Regions from separate parts of the Homo sapiens genome. Here all the other regions are linked to region 1. The links are contacts of gene promoters, found by promoter capture Hi-C in blood cells and fetal thymus (Javierre and others, 2016). All regions are on one chromosome and are shown on one strand. The core of a region is centred on a gene start or on the middle of the fragment in contact, and the rest is flanking DNA. Distances in the headings are between cores, read along the strand shown. Region 1 holds the start of CDK5RAP2 (CDK5 regulatory subunit associated protein 2). Region 2 overlaps MORN5 (MORN repeat containing 5). Region 3 has its middle 7.3 kb from the start of TTLL11. Region 4 overlaps MRRF (mitochondrial ribosome recycling factor).

What was found. The method cuts DNA at HindIII sites, captures the fragments that hold promoters and counts their contacts. A CHiCAGO score of 5 or more calls a contact.
Region 2: a fragment that was not itself captured here is called in contact with the fragment with the promoter of CDK5RAP2 in region 1 in 1 of 17 cell types (activated CD4 T cells); the score reaches 6.4 in activated CD4 T cells.
Region 3: a fragment that was not itself captured here is called in contact with the fragment with the promoter of CDK5RAP2 in region 1 in 3 of 17 cell types (non-activated CD4 T cells, total CD8 T cells and naive CD8 T cells); the score reaches 8.0 in non-activated CD4 T cells.
Region 4: a contact is called between a fragment that was not itself captured here and the fragment with the promoter of CDK5RAP2 in region 1, in 1 of 17 cell types (non-activated CD4 T cells). The highest score is 5.4, in non-activated CD4 T cells.

Annotation. Positions count from the first base shown.
Region 1 is chr9:120,578,333-120,581,517 of GRCh38, reverse strand. It overlaps CDK5RAP2 (CDK5 regulatory subunit associated protein 2), which reads left to right and starts at 1,351. Exons shown (of 38, transcript NM_018249.6): 1 at 1,351-1,598. The coding sequence starts at 1,540. RefSeq lists enhancers at 1,134-1,263, 1,117-1,679. The HindIII fragment of the contact is 6,111 bases long and covers 1-3,185 here.
Region 2 is chr9:122,164,237-122,167,828 of GRCh38, reverse strand. MORN5 (MORN repeat containing 5) reads right to left here. Exons shown (of 5, transcript NM_198469.4): 2 at 914-1,061. Among named protein-coding and RNA genes, the nearest start is that of MORN5, 6.1 kb to the right of the region's middle. The HindIII fragment of the contact is 1,291 bases long and covers 1,526-2,816 here.
Region 3 is chr9:122,098,878-122,102,356 of GRCh38, reverse strand. No RefSeq gene overlaps it. Among named protein-coding and RNA genes, the nearest start is that of TTLL11, 7.3 kb to the right of the region's middle. The HindIII fragment of the contact is 2,488 bases long and covers 329-2,816 here.
Region 4 is chr9:122,266,515-122,269,810 of GRCh38, reverse strand. All of the region lies in intron 1 of MRRF (mitochondrial ribosome recycling factor), which reads right to left. Among named protein-coding and RNA genes, the nearest start is that of MRRF, 3.3 kb to the right of the region's middle. The HindIII fragment of the contact is 5,207 bases long and covers 1-3,296 here.

The DNA of each region.
Region 1 (3,185 bases), core at 102-2,601:
CTTTTGAAAAGTATCAATAATTGGTTAATTACTTAACTGAAGAATGAGGGCCTGGTGCAGTGGCTCAGGCCTATAACCCCAGCACTTTGGGAGGCCAAGGTGGGAGGATTGCTTGAGGCCAGGAGTTCAAGACCAGCCTGGGCAACATAGTGAGACCCTGTCTCTATTTAAAAAAAAAAAAAAAAGAATGAGGAAACAGGGTGAAAGGGGAATTGTTCAAGATTACTGGGAAAGTCACTATCTATCCACTCACCAACCATTTCAAGTTATTTTCATCGGGCTCTCTCACAAGGGCCTGCAGAGGAAGGAGCAACACTGAGTTGAGGAGGGGAAGGTTAATTTCATTGCTTAAGCTCTGCCAAGATTATCTAAGTGTTTGGTGATTGCTATGTGCTTTAAGAAAGGCAGCCAAGGGGCCGGTGCTGTGGCTCACGCCTGTAATCCCAGCAGTTTGGAAGGCCGGGGTGGGCAGATCACGAGGTCAGGAGATTGAGACCATCCTGGCCAACATGGTGAAACCCCGTCTCTACTAAACATACAAAAATTACCCGGGTGTGGTGGCGCAAGGCCGAGGCAGAAGAATCGCTTAAACCCAGAAGGTGAAGGTTGCAGTGAGCTGAGATCGGGCCACTGCACTCCAGCCTGGCGACAGAGGCACCATTTCAAAAAAAAAAAAAAAGAAAGGCAGCCAGGGTTATGCAGAGAGCCCTCATCTAGTTGGCAGGAGCTGCAGACCCCCACTCCAGTTGAAAGACATTGTCAATACTTAATTACTTTGGGAGAGTCCTTTCCTCTTGCTGGCCCTCAGTTTTCTGACCACAGGTGCCTTTGAGTCCTAATGGTAATAAAAGACCAATAGGTGAGAGACTGGAGTGGGAGTGCTGTTGACCACTGGCTCATGGGAATGAGTTATTTGCTTCAAACTAAGTCTGCAAATTACTGTTTGCCTTGAGATTCCGCACGTAGTATTTTTCCAAAGCAAGGCAGCACTCAGTTATCTGAGTTTCAACTTAAGGTCAAATCCCAAAGTTTTGGGGTCATTATTCTAGAAAAGCAAACACGAGGTTAGGAACTTTGAGGATTCCTGAGTGGCTGTATTCATTTCCATCTCCCGCGTAAATTAACGGACTAGGGCCCGCTTTGGCCCTCAACAAAGATGGCACCCGCCCTCGCCTCTCCCTAAGTGCCCTCACAAAAAATGGCAGCCGGCCTTTTTTTGTCTCTTATTTTTGCTTGGCTTAAGCACGGATGCTTTGCCCTTAGTTAAGATGGCACCTATCCCCGCTTCCCTGCCCGTCCTCTGGCGCCAGCCGGTCGGCTTCACTGCGTGCGCCTCCGTGACCCCGCCTCGTTTCCGTAGGAAGAAGCGCCGGGAAAGATGGCGGCGTCTGTGGTTTGAATTCCAGCGGCGCCGCCAGAGTCTGAACAAGAGCTGGGGTGGAGGGGGCGGGGACCTGGGGAGCCCGGCGGGTCGCTATCGCGGGGGGTACTAGTGGCGCCGCCGCCACAGACACCAACGCTGTCGCCACCTCTGTAGCCATGATGGACTTGGTGTTGGAAGAGGACGTCACCGTCCCTGGGACGCTCAGCGGCTGCAGGTGCGGCCGGGGCATTGGTGGTCGTGGTAACCGGGCCGGGGTTCCAGCTGGTGGGATTTCGTTCTAACGCGGCCTTGGGGTTTGCTCTTGAGGGTGTCTGGCCAGGGGCAGTGTGTGGGGTGGGTTCCTTCGGAGAGGGTCTCTGGGGGGCCCACCACCTGACACTCTGGAGGGCTGGGAGCCGCGACCTGCACCACAATTGCCAGTAGCATTGCGCCATGTACTTTGTAGAGCGTGTGAAGAACAGGTAAGGAGTTTTCTGAAAGAGTAGGACGAGGGTGGGGCCACTTGGAGTATCCCGTTAGTGGGGATTGGTGGAGAACAGGGACCTTGAGGGCACCTGATGGTTCCTTCTGGTTTGAGAGTTTGTTTTCATTATGGAGAGAGTGTAGCCGGTATGCCCAGACTTTGCTTTTTGGGTCACATAGTGGCCACCCAGGAGGCAATGGAGTGCAATGATTAAGAACCTTGGCTAGAGTTGGACAAAACTGGATTCAAATCCAGCCCTGTAAACTGACTAGCTGTGTGACCTTGGTAAAGTGATTTCACCGGCTTTCCCATCTGTAAAATGGGCTAGTAATATCCACCCAACAGAGTTGGGGTGAGGATTAAAAGAGGTGATGCCTGTCGAGCCATTTGCTTGGCAGGTGTAGTGCCTGCCACATAATCAGTGCTTAAAAAATGATCTTGTGTTGCCATTAGTGTCATTATTACTACTGTCATCAAAGGTGATATGAATCAGGGAATAATGGCCAAGAGTGGCCTCCCATGGACCTGCCCCAAGAGACTGTGGGAGTCCCCATTGCTGGTGGAGCTGGGGTCTGGTAGGAAGGCCTAACAGAGCGCAACTCTGCTCCACGGCTGGCCCCTGTGGTTGTCCTAGACTCCTGGTTGGAGAGTGAGTAGAGGGAAGAGGAGGAGAGCCCTGACGGAGAACCTGCACTGTTTATCCAGCTCTACTATGGACAAGCTGCTGCTTTTAGTCAACAGATCCTAATTGAAAGGGTGACCATGTTATTTATTGTGCTAACTGGGACACTTAAGAGTGAAAAGAGCCAGGTGCGGTGGCTCACCTGTGTAATCCTAGCCCTTGGGGAGGCCGAGGTGGGCCGATTTCTTGAGCTCAGGAGTGTGAGATCAGCCTGGGCAACATGGTGAAATCCTATCTCTACAAAAACTACAAAGATTAGCCAGGCGTGGTGGCATGCACTTGTAGTCCCAGCCGCTCGGGAGGCTGAGGCAGGAGGATTGCATGAGCCCGGAAGGTTGATGCTGCAGTGAGCTGTGTTCATGCCACTGCACTGTAGCCTGGGTGACAAAGTGAGACTCTATCTTTAAAAAAAAAAAAAAGGAAAGTGAAAATAATTAATATTTATGCCCGGGCAGCAGACATAAAGAGGGCCTATCTTGGGTAAACCTGGACAAATGGTTTTTCTGTTTATTGAGAACCTTCATGTATGAGGCACAGACTAAGATGCTTTGCAGTTCCTGTCTAATTGGGTCCTGTGATATTTCATCATGCCCTTTTCTATCTATTTTACATCCACTGCCCCAATATATTGGGAGTATGGCTTCTCTCTTGTATTG
Region 2 (3,592 bases), core at 922-3,421, 1.6 Mb before region 1:
GAGCCTCTGGATGGAATGCAGGCTTGCTGACTTATTTCAGACTTTTGAGCTCTAGAACTGTAAGATAATACATTTGTGCTGATTTCAGACTAAATTTGTGGTAACCTGTTATAGTACCAACACATAACTAATGCAACTAACTGTCCCGAGTTGATAGGTGAAGAACTCTCAGGGAGGTGAAGTCGTGGGCCTAAGATCAGGCAGTAAGTGGTGTAACAGATGCAAACTCATCATGGCCTCTCCACAGATCCTTCCAGATCTAGAGGGAGAGGATTCTAGAGCCCTGGGAGATCCAGAAGCAGGGAGAAATTAGCCGGGCATGGTGGCACATACCTGTAATCCCAGCTACTCAGGAGGCCTAGGCAAGAGAATAGCTTGAACCCAGGAGGCAGAGGTTGTGGTGAGCTGAGATCACACCACTGCACTCCAGCCTGGGCGACAGAGACTCGTTTTCAAAAAAAAAAAAAAAAAAAAAGGTCAGGTGCGGTGGCTCACACCTGCGCACCTGTAATCCCAGCACTTTGGGAGGCCAAGGCGGGTGGATCACAAGGTCAAGAGACTGAGACCATCCTGGCAAACATGGTGAAACCCAATCTCTACTAAAAATACAAAAATTAGCTGGGCATGGTGGTGCACGCCCGTAGTCCCAGCTACTCGGGAGGCTGAGGCAGGAGACTCGCTTGAACCCAGGAGGCGGAGGTTGCAGTGAGCCGAGATTGTGCCACTGCACTCCAGCCTGGTGACAGAGTGAGACTAAAAAAAAAAAAAAAAAGTGGGGGGAGTGGGGGAGAAGCAAAGAGAAGAGTGAATGGAACAAGGTGGGCACCAGACAGGGAGGATGGGGTGCCAGAGGGTGAGGCTCTTCTTGCGTGAGGATCTCTCCTCCACAGCATCCGTCCCCCCAGCTGATCACCTTTATGGCCAATCCGTTTTCCCAAATGGCGTCGTATTGGCTTCCGCTGGGGAAGTACAGGGTTCCCTCGCCGTGAAACATGCCATCCTTCATTTCCCCAACATATATTGTTTCGGTAGGGAGGATGTACTTGGCTTTGCCCTCCATCCTGTAAAGACACAGGGAAATCACTGAGCCCTGTGTGACAGCTGGAGGATCAGAGCTGGCAGGCAACAGAGTGAGCAGGAACCCCGTTCTCAGCATTCTCATCCTTCTCATCCCAGCAGTACTCTGCTGAAAACAAAATTTTTGTTTTGTTTCCCTCAAAAGCTCAAAAACGAAAAGAGGGGAATAGAGTTTGCTCTGTTCATTCTCCCCTTCACCTAGAGGCTCACTCTCACCTTGGAGTTCACACTGCTCCCTGAAATAAACCCCCCTAGTAGGCCCAGAGAGCGTAGAGATGTGCCCAAAACCACACACAGTAAAAACTGTGGACACTAGAGCCCAGGTTTTCTGGCAGCTAGTTCTGTGATTTCTCTGTCCCCCATGACCAACCCATCCTTGCCTATTATGCCACAAGTGGAATATTAGGGAAAATATGAAATTTAGAGACAGGAGTAAGGGTTTGAAGCTTACCACCATTATATATATATATAATCTTGGATACTAATATTGTTTGGCTGTGTCCCCACCCAAATCTCATCGGGAATTGTAGCTCCCATAATCCCCACATGTCATGGGAGGGACTCAGTGGGAGGTAACTGAATCATGGGGGTGGGTTTTTCCCATGCTGTTCTCATGATAGTGAATAAGTCTCATGAGATCTGATGGTTTTATAAAGGGCAATTCCCCTGAACATGCTCTCTTGCCTGCTGCCATGTAAGATGTGCCCTTGCTCCCCCTTTGCGTCCACCATGATCGTGAGGCCTTCCCAGCCATGTGGAACTGTGAGTCCATTAAGCCTCTTTCCTTTATAGATTACCCAGTCTTTGGTTATGTCCTTACAGCAGCATGAGAACAGACTAATACAGATACTTTCCCAAACCTCTTTGCTTGTGCCTCCCTCCCTTCCTTCCCTTCCTTCTTTCCTTCCAAACAGGTATTTACAGAGCACCTACATTTTGTCAGGGACTATGCTGATGGTCCAACTTGCTGAATACAACACAGATTCAACAGTGATCAAGGCAGATGCGGTCCCTGTCCTCGGGGGGCTCACAGTCTAGTGGGGGACAAAATTGAGTAATTATACAATGTGTGATAAGTGCTATGCAGGAGGAAGACAGGCTCATACAGGAGAACAAGGCAGGGACACCAGCTTGACCAGTTGACTAGCTTCTTTGTTTTGTTTTTTGTTTTTTTCCCAAGACCAGATCTTGTTCTGTCTCCCAGGCTGCAGTACAGCTGTGTGATCATGGCTCAATGCAGCCTCAATCCCCTGAACTCAAGTGATCCTCCCACCTCAGCCTCCCAAGTAGTTGGAACCACAGGTGTGCCCCACCACGCCTGGCTTATTTAATTTTTTTTTTTTTTTTTTTTTTTTTGTAGAGACGGGGTTTCCCTATGTTGCCCAGGCTGATCTAGAACTTCTGGGCTCAAATGATCCTCCTGCCTCAGCCTCCCAAAATGTTGGGATTACAGGTGTGAGCCACTGCACTGGGCTGACCAGTTTCTTTATGGGTGAAATGGCTGCAATTAATCCAGGTAACATATAACGATTTTCCTAGTAAAGGGCCTGACATATATATAGTGAGTGCTTAATAAATATGCTTTCATTCATTCCTTCTCCATTCCTCCTAACAAGCTGAAGGCTCCTCTCCTAACTCTGACCTTCTTTAGGCTTTTGCTAATACCTCTGTCGGGATGTGTAACACTTTCTATCTTGTTTTGTAATTAGGTATCTTATCTCCTGTATTTAAGAAAAGCTTCTTTAAAGGAAGACTTTGGTATCCTCAGCTCCTAGAACCATTAAGCAGGTGCTTCATAAACGTCTCCTGAGTAAAGAATGAAGGAAACAGAAAGAGTAGTCAGTGAACAGAGTGGATGACAAAGTTGTTGAGATAACTGAGTGAGACGATGGTTGTGAAACTATAGCAGAATGCCCGGCATAGAACAAGAAATTGAAAACTATTTCACTTTTATTCTAGTGCAAGACATGGGGGGAAGGGAGAATTCCTCTTCTCCTTCCCTCCTGTACTCTTTGCTTGAGCTCACATCTATCATTTCTAAGCACCATCTCCATATTCAAGTTCTACACCCTTCTCTGAGGTTAGACCCCACCCCTTTTCTTACCTTGAACTGGACATCACTGTTCAGACCTCTCACAGACATCTCCAACTCGCCTAAAACAGAACTCATCTCCTCCTCCCCTAAGCAGCACCTCCTTAGAGTTCTCTATTTCCATGAATGGTATCAGAATCCTCTGGTTCAAGGCCAGGAGCTGGGCCCAGGGCTGGGGCTGTAAGCCATCTCTGGACGGGACTGGAGCCAATCAGCTGCCAACTCCTGGCAGTAAAATCCCCAAACCTCTCCTACATTTTTCTCTTTCCTGCAGCTTCACTGCTTCTGCCTTGGCCCAGGGTTCTGCTGCCTCTTACTGGGACAACTGCAGTGAGCTCTGAGCTGATCTCCCCATCTTCACTTTTCCTGCTTCCCTCCTCTCTGTCCCTCCTTCTCTCCTTCTCCTCCCTTCTTCTTTTTCTC
Region 3 (3,479 bases), core at 323-2,822, 1.5 Mb before region 1:
AGCCTTCTCCAGGAGGCTTCCCAGGGCAGGGGCTCCACAGGAGGTGTTGCTAGTCTGGAGGTCTCCTAGTGACCATTCATCCCCCCAAGACAAGGGGGTGCTATCCTTGAGGCTGATGGCAGCTTCAAGCTAATCTCCCAGGGACAGGGATGCCCTGGAGGAAGAGGCCCAGGGGGAAGGAAGCCAGGATCACCTCCACTCATCCTCAGGATAATAACTAGAGGGGGCAGGCTCCCCAGTGCTTCCAGAGACCCTTTCATGAAGTTGTTGAGCCCCAGGGTACAGACCAGGGCTGTGGGACCCCAGACTTACTGCCATCTCCTAAGCTTCTTCCTTGGCAAAGTGAAAGCATTGGAAGGATGAGTCTTTTGGGGACAGTGAGGAGGGAGGAGGAGGAAACTGGGAGTCTCTGAAATTTGGCTGGTGAGAGGGGAGCCCAGTCCAAGCTCCTGGTGCCTGAGGAAAGGGCAATGCTGATGAGCCTGAGCAGCAGGAAGGGCCCCAGTTCCCTCCTATCTCGGTCCCCTTCCCACAGCCGCCCCCCACCACCTCTGGGCTGCTTAACTGCAGTAGACTCCTCACTGGTCTCCTCACCCCGATTCTGCCCCCAAGCCCTCTTCCAAGGTAGAATAAAGTTAGGGGTCAGGCTCTGGGCCCGGGTTGGCATATGAGCTCCAGAACTTCCAGCTGAGTGACTTTGGGCACCCACTTACTTTCCTTGTGCTGCTTCCTGATCTATAAAGTGGGAGACCACTGCTGTCTACCTCCTTAGTTGCTGTGAGCCATAAACTCAATAATCCACGTAAAGGGTTTAGGACAATAAATGTTAACTTACTTTTATTTCTCAACGTGCAGAGCTTTATTTCTGAAATAGAAATCTGACCAGTCAGTCCTCTGCTAAAAACCCTCCTAGGGACCCCTGAAGCTATGGGAAGGAGCTTGTTTTGTTTTTGTCACCAGGCTGGAGTGCAGTGGCACGATCTCTGTCACCCAGGCTGGAATGCAGTGGCACGATCTCCACTTACTGCAACCTCTGCCTTCTGGGTTCAAGCAAGTCTTATGCCTCAGTCTACTGAGTAGCTGCGACTACAGACATGTACCACCACGCTGGCTAATTTTTGTACTTTTAGTAGAGATGGGATTTCGCCATGTTGGCCAGGCTGGTCTCGAACTCCTGACCTCAAGTGATCTGCCTGTCTCGGCCTCCCAAAGTGCTGGGATTATAGGTGTGAGCCACTGTGCCGGCAGTGAAGGGGCTTGTTCTGACCCTGAGCTTGCCAGCCTCTGCATGTCTTTACCACACCCCTCCTGCCCACACCCAGCACCCCCTTACGTTCCCTAGTTCACCTGTCAGGGCCTTTCCCTGAGTGATCGGTTCTGCCAGGCGCCCTGCTCTTGTCCCTGTCCCCTCTTCTGGGACGTCCCTCCTTGACTTCCACGCACAGCATGGACACATGGGTGTGCAGAAGTGGAAAGGGGTACTCGGTGCACAGATATCATATGGCATTTTGCAAGCCATGAAGCAGGGCCCCACCCCAGTGGGCTGTTGGTCACTGTGGGTCCCACTGTCTGCTGTTGTGTTTGAAAATAGCCTCTGGCCTTATGCCTCTCCACCTAAGCACATAATGTATGACGTGGGTTCTTAAAACTTGGAATCAGTTAAAATGTATCTTATTTTAAACAAAACTAATCCATGCTATTAGAAGTCAGGAAAGCAATTACCCTAGGGTGGGGCTTCCAGGGTGCTGGGGATGTTCTGATTTTTGATCTGGGTGTTGGTTTCTTCGGTCTTTTCAGTTTATGAAAATCCATCGAAGTTTTCTGTGTGTATATTACCCTCCAATAAAAATGTCAAAACTGTTTTGTTTCGGTAATTTCCTCTTTCACCCCTATATCCCTTGACATACCTGTAGATACAGAACTGTAAAACCTAAGGCAACAATGCCCAGGCTAAATAATTCATAATCCAATTCCATAAGTGCCATTTACTCTGTGCTGGGCCCTGTGCTGGGGGCCCAGGGGACTGAATCAACCACAGCCCAGTCCTCCAGAAACTCCTGGTCTGTGGGGATGGGGAAATGCAGCCTAGCATGGGGTGGAGAGGTCATAAAAGCAGATCCAAGAGGAGGGGATGTCACTGCTTTCTAGAGAATCATAAAGCCAAGAGGGACATAGGGGCATAACAGAGATCAACAGGTTACTTGAGGGTTTGGTATATGCCGGCCGTTTCTGTTCTAAATGCTTTTCCATGTGGTGGCTAACTTAATCCTCAAAGTAACAGGAACACCGGGAGGTAGGTACTATCATTTTCACCTTTTCACAGTGAGGAAAGAATCACAGAAGAGCCAGGTAACCTATCTAAGTATAATCAGCCAGAAAGTGGGAGAGATAAGACTTGAACCCAGGCTGTCAGCTTCAGAACTCAACTCGTGCTCAGCCTCCAGGCTAAACTGTGCTGTGGGGAAAATAATGTTCAGTTAAATGCCCAAATACACAACGAGGCTCGACATACAGATGTGCTCCATGAACAATGGCTACTACTGACAATAAGAAAGAAACAACCTATTAGAGAAAAAGTTAACCTGAAACTGAACATGACGCCTTTTGCTCATTCATTAAGATCGGCCACGCCGCCTTCCGGGAACTGGATGCCCCCGGGAGCTCAGCCATACCCTAAGAAAAGGAGATTTTGTAGCTGGGCCTGAAGGATAAACTGAGCGGATTGGGTCAGGTGAGCTGTGAGGGAGGGTGCACCCAGCAGAGAGAGCAATAGTGGCAAAAGCCCAGAGGTGCAAAAATGTGTGTGTTTGCAAGCTTAGCTGGGCAGAGCTCGCGATTCAGAGGCGCTTCAGCCTTCTCCCTCTTAAAAACTGGACCTCGGGCGCCACCTGGTGGCGACCTCTGATACTAATAGGGCAGAAACAACCAGCTGGGGCAAAAGTTCCCCACACCCTTCTCTCCTGGACCATTTGTTCCTCCTGTCTCTTTCCCCACAAATGGATTTGCTGTAAAATGGACTTTTACAGCTGTTAACGTCAATTTAAAAATTTAAAAAGTCAATTGACTTTGACAGCTGTAAAAGTCCATTTTACAGCAAGTCCATCTGGGGGAAAGAGACAAGGTGTTGGGATGTGGATGGGATGGGAGTGGTGAAGACATGGTGAGGTCAGTGTCAAAACAAGCCCCTTCCCGGCCGATCGCAGTGTCTCACGCCTGTAATCCTAGCACTTTGGGAGGTCGAGATGGGTGGATCATTTGAGGTCAGGAGTTTGAGACCAACCTGGCCAACATGGCGAAGCCCTGTCTCTATTAAAAGTACAAAAATTAACCCGTGTGGTGGGGAGTGCCTGTAGTCCCAGCTACTCGGGAGACTGAAGCATGAGAATCGCTTGAACCCAGAAGGCAGAGGTTGCAGTAAGTGGAGATCGTGTCACTGCACTCCAGCCTAGGCAACAGGGTGAGACCCTGTCTCAAAAACA
Region 4 (3,296 bases), core at 356-2,855, 1.7 Mb before region 1:
GCAGGAGCCCCCCAAAATAATACCTGTTGATAGCTATCACCTTTTTTTTCAAACTTTTAAAAAAATATTATCTTTATTATCTTTTGAGACTGAGTCACACTCTGTTGCCCAGGATGGAGTACAGTGGCACGATCTTGGCTCACAGCAACCTCCACTCCCAGGTTCAAGCAATTCTCATGCCTCAGCCTCCCAAGTAGCTGGGATTACAGGCACATGCCACCATGCCCAGCGAATTTTTTTGTATTTTTAGTAGAGACAGGGTTTCACCATGTTGCCCAGGCTGGTCTTGAACTCCTGGGCTCAGGCAATCCACCTGCCTTGGCCTCCCAAAGTGCTAGGATTACAGGTGTGAGCCACCATGCCCGGCCTCTAAAACTTTTATGCCAGGGTCAGACACAATAAAGAAACCTTGTATGTTATTAATGATGTACAAAATAGCCTACAATCAGTCAGACCTGGATGTAAATTTCAACTTTAGGCAATTTACTCTTCTTTTCTGAGCATCACTTTCCTCATCAATGATAAAAATAACCTTGAACTTAAAATAAAATTTAATAATGAATACATGTAAACAACTAACATAGTGCCAGGAATATAGCAGCTTAATGAATGATGGCTATTATTATTATTATTTTTTTTTTTTTTGAGACAGAGTCTCACTCTGTCGCCCAGGCTGGAGTGCAGTGGCACGATCTCGGCTCACTGCAAGCTCCGCCTCCCGGGTACACGCCATTCTACTGCCTCAGCCTCCCAAGTAGCTGGGACTACAGGCGCCTGCCACCACGCCCGGCTAATTTTTTGTATTTTTTAGTAGAGACGGGGTTTCACCTTGTTAGCCAGGTTGGTCTCGATCTCCTGACCTCGTGATCCACCCACCTCGGCCTCCCAAAGTGCTAGGATTACAGGCGTGAGCCACCGCACCCGGCCTAATGATGGATATTATTTTTAAAGCAAATGAGTAGCACAAAGGCAAATCATTTCTCGCGATGGAATTTTTAACAGTAAGGGATACTAGAAGTTAGTGATCAGTGTATGAAGTCTATAAAACCAGATTTGATGAAAAAAGGGAATATTTTTCTTCTTTACTAGTATCAATAGCTACTATTAATTGAGGTCAAGTTTGGACTGTTTGCTTTAACCATACTATTTCATTTAATTCTCTCAATAATGCCACAAAGAACGTATAATAATCCCCATTTTACAGATGCTGAAACTGAGGTTCAGAGAGATTAAGTCACTGTCCAAGGACATGGAGCTAATAGCCAAGCTCTATTTTAGCAGAACTGTTCACAGAGGTTTGGCTCAGAGTGAAGTTTCTATATCTAGGTTTTTCCCTAATAAAACCAATGCCTAACTCATACTTATAACCAAATATGGCTGTAGAATAATGAGTAGATTTTATTTTAGTCTACAGGGTCTCAATCTGGCTGCTCCATTTAAGACAGGTTTCCTGGTATTCCTGTTGCAGGTCATAATACCAACTCACAAAGCAACAGGAAATCAAAATGGGTTAGAAATAAACAACCTTTGACAGAAAACGCAGCACCCAAAAGCAGACCCAGTACACGTGAACCGGAAGACAACTCTATAAATAAACCACATCGCTGAAATGCTTAAGGCGTAGATTTTAATTGCACAGAAGTCAAGAAATTTCAAAGTGGAAGTTCAATAAAAGCAGTCCTTTAGGTCCTTTACCTTAAGGGTATACAAATTAACATTCAGTTCAGCACAGATAAAGAATTAAAGTTGAAGAAAAATTTGTTGAGATCCCAAGTATGAGCCAACAAAATTAACCTATACATAGAAGCAATGTGGGGAAGTGTCTGAGCTTTGGACGCAGTCTGGAACTGGAATCTCAATTCCCCCACTTACTAGCTGTGTGACCTTGGGGAGGTCATTTAGCCTCTCTGAGCTACAGCTTCCACATCATCATCATAGTGATATTAATGAGACTTTAAAAGATAACAATAATGACAATACCTAACATTTATATAACAATGACTACGTGACAGAAACTATTCTAAGTGGTTTATGCACATGAACTCATTTCAGCCTCATGATAACCCTGAAGTAAGTACTATGATTATTCCCACTTTACAGATAAGAAAACAGAAGCAAAAATCTGCCCAAGATTTGAATTCAGTCAATCTAGCTCTAGAGTCTATGTTATTAACTGCTATACAATGCATATAGAACACTCAGCATGGCTGGGAACAGTGATGGGTGCCTATAGTCCCAGTTACTTGGGATGCTAAGGAAGGAGGATCACTTCAGGCCAGGAGTCCAAGGCCAGCCTTGGCAATATAGTGAGACCTAGTCACTTAACAAAACACATACACACAGTACAATGCCTGGCATCCAGTAGGTACACAATAAATTGTAGCTATTATAATAGCATCCCAACTATTAAATTTTTTTTTTTTTTTTTTTGAGACAGAGTCTCACTCTGTTGCCCAGGCTGGAGAGCAGTGGCACGTTCTCAGCTCACTGCAACCTATGCCTTCCAGGTTCAGGGGATTCTCCTGCCTCAGCCTCCTGAGTAGGTGGGACTACAGGCACCCACCACCACACCCAGTTAACTTTTATATATTTTAAGTAGAGATGGGGTTTCACCATGTTGGCCAGGCTGGTCTCAAACTCCTTACCTCAGGTGATCTGCCCGCCTCGGCCTCCCAAAGTGCTGGGATTACCGGCGTGAGCCACTGCGCCGGCCTGAATTTTTTTTCTTTTTTTTTTTTTTTGAGACGGAGTCTCACTCTGTCGCCCAGGCTGGAGTGCAGTGGCGCAATCTTGGCTCACTGCAACCTCCGCCTCCAGGGTTCAAGCCATTCTCCTAACTCAACCTCCCAAATAGCTGGGATTACAGGCGTGCGCCACCACACCCAGCTAATTTTTGTATTTTTAGTAGACGGGGTTTCACCGTGTTAGCCAGGATGGTCTCGACCCCCTGACCTCGTGATCCGCCCGCCTGGGCCTCCCAATGTGCTGAGATTACAGACTGAAATATTTTTTTAAACTACTTGAAGCACACATTCTTTTTCCAAAGTTGAGGGTCTCAAACGATTTCCCTGTTCTTCACAGAAGGTTCATTTTAATTTTGGCTAGATGACCAACCCAAAATCCTGGCTTATCTACTGTCCCAGCAACTCTTTTCAATGCAGCTGTATACTAGCTTATAACATAAGCACTTCTATGAGTGTGCATATACGCAGGCTCTTGCATATAAAATACTTTCACATGTACCATCTTAACTGGTTCTCATAACTAAAGAGTGATAATCACCACCCGTATTTTGC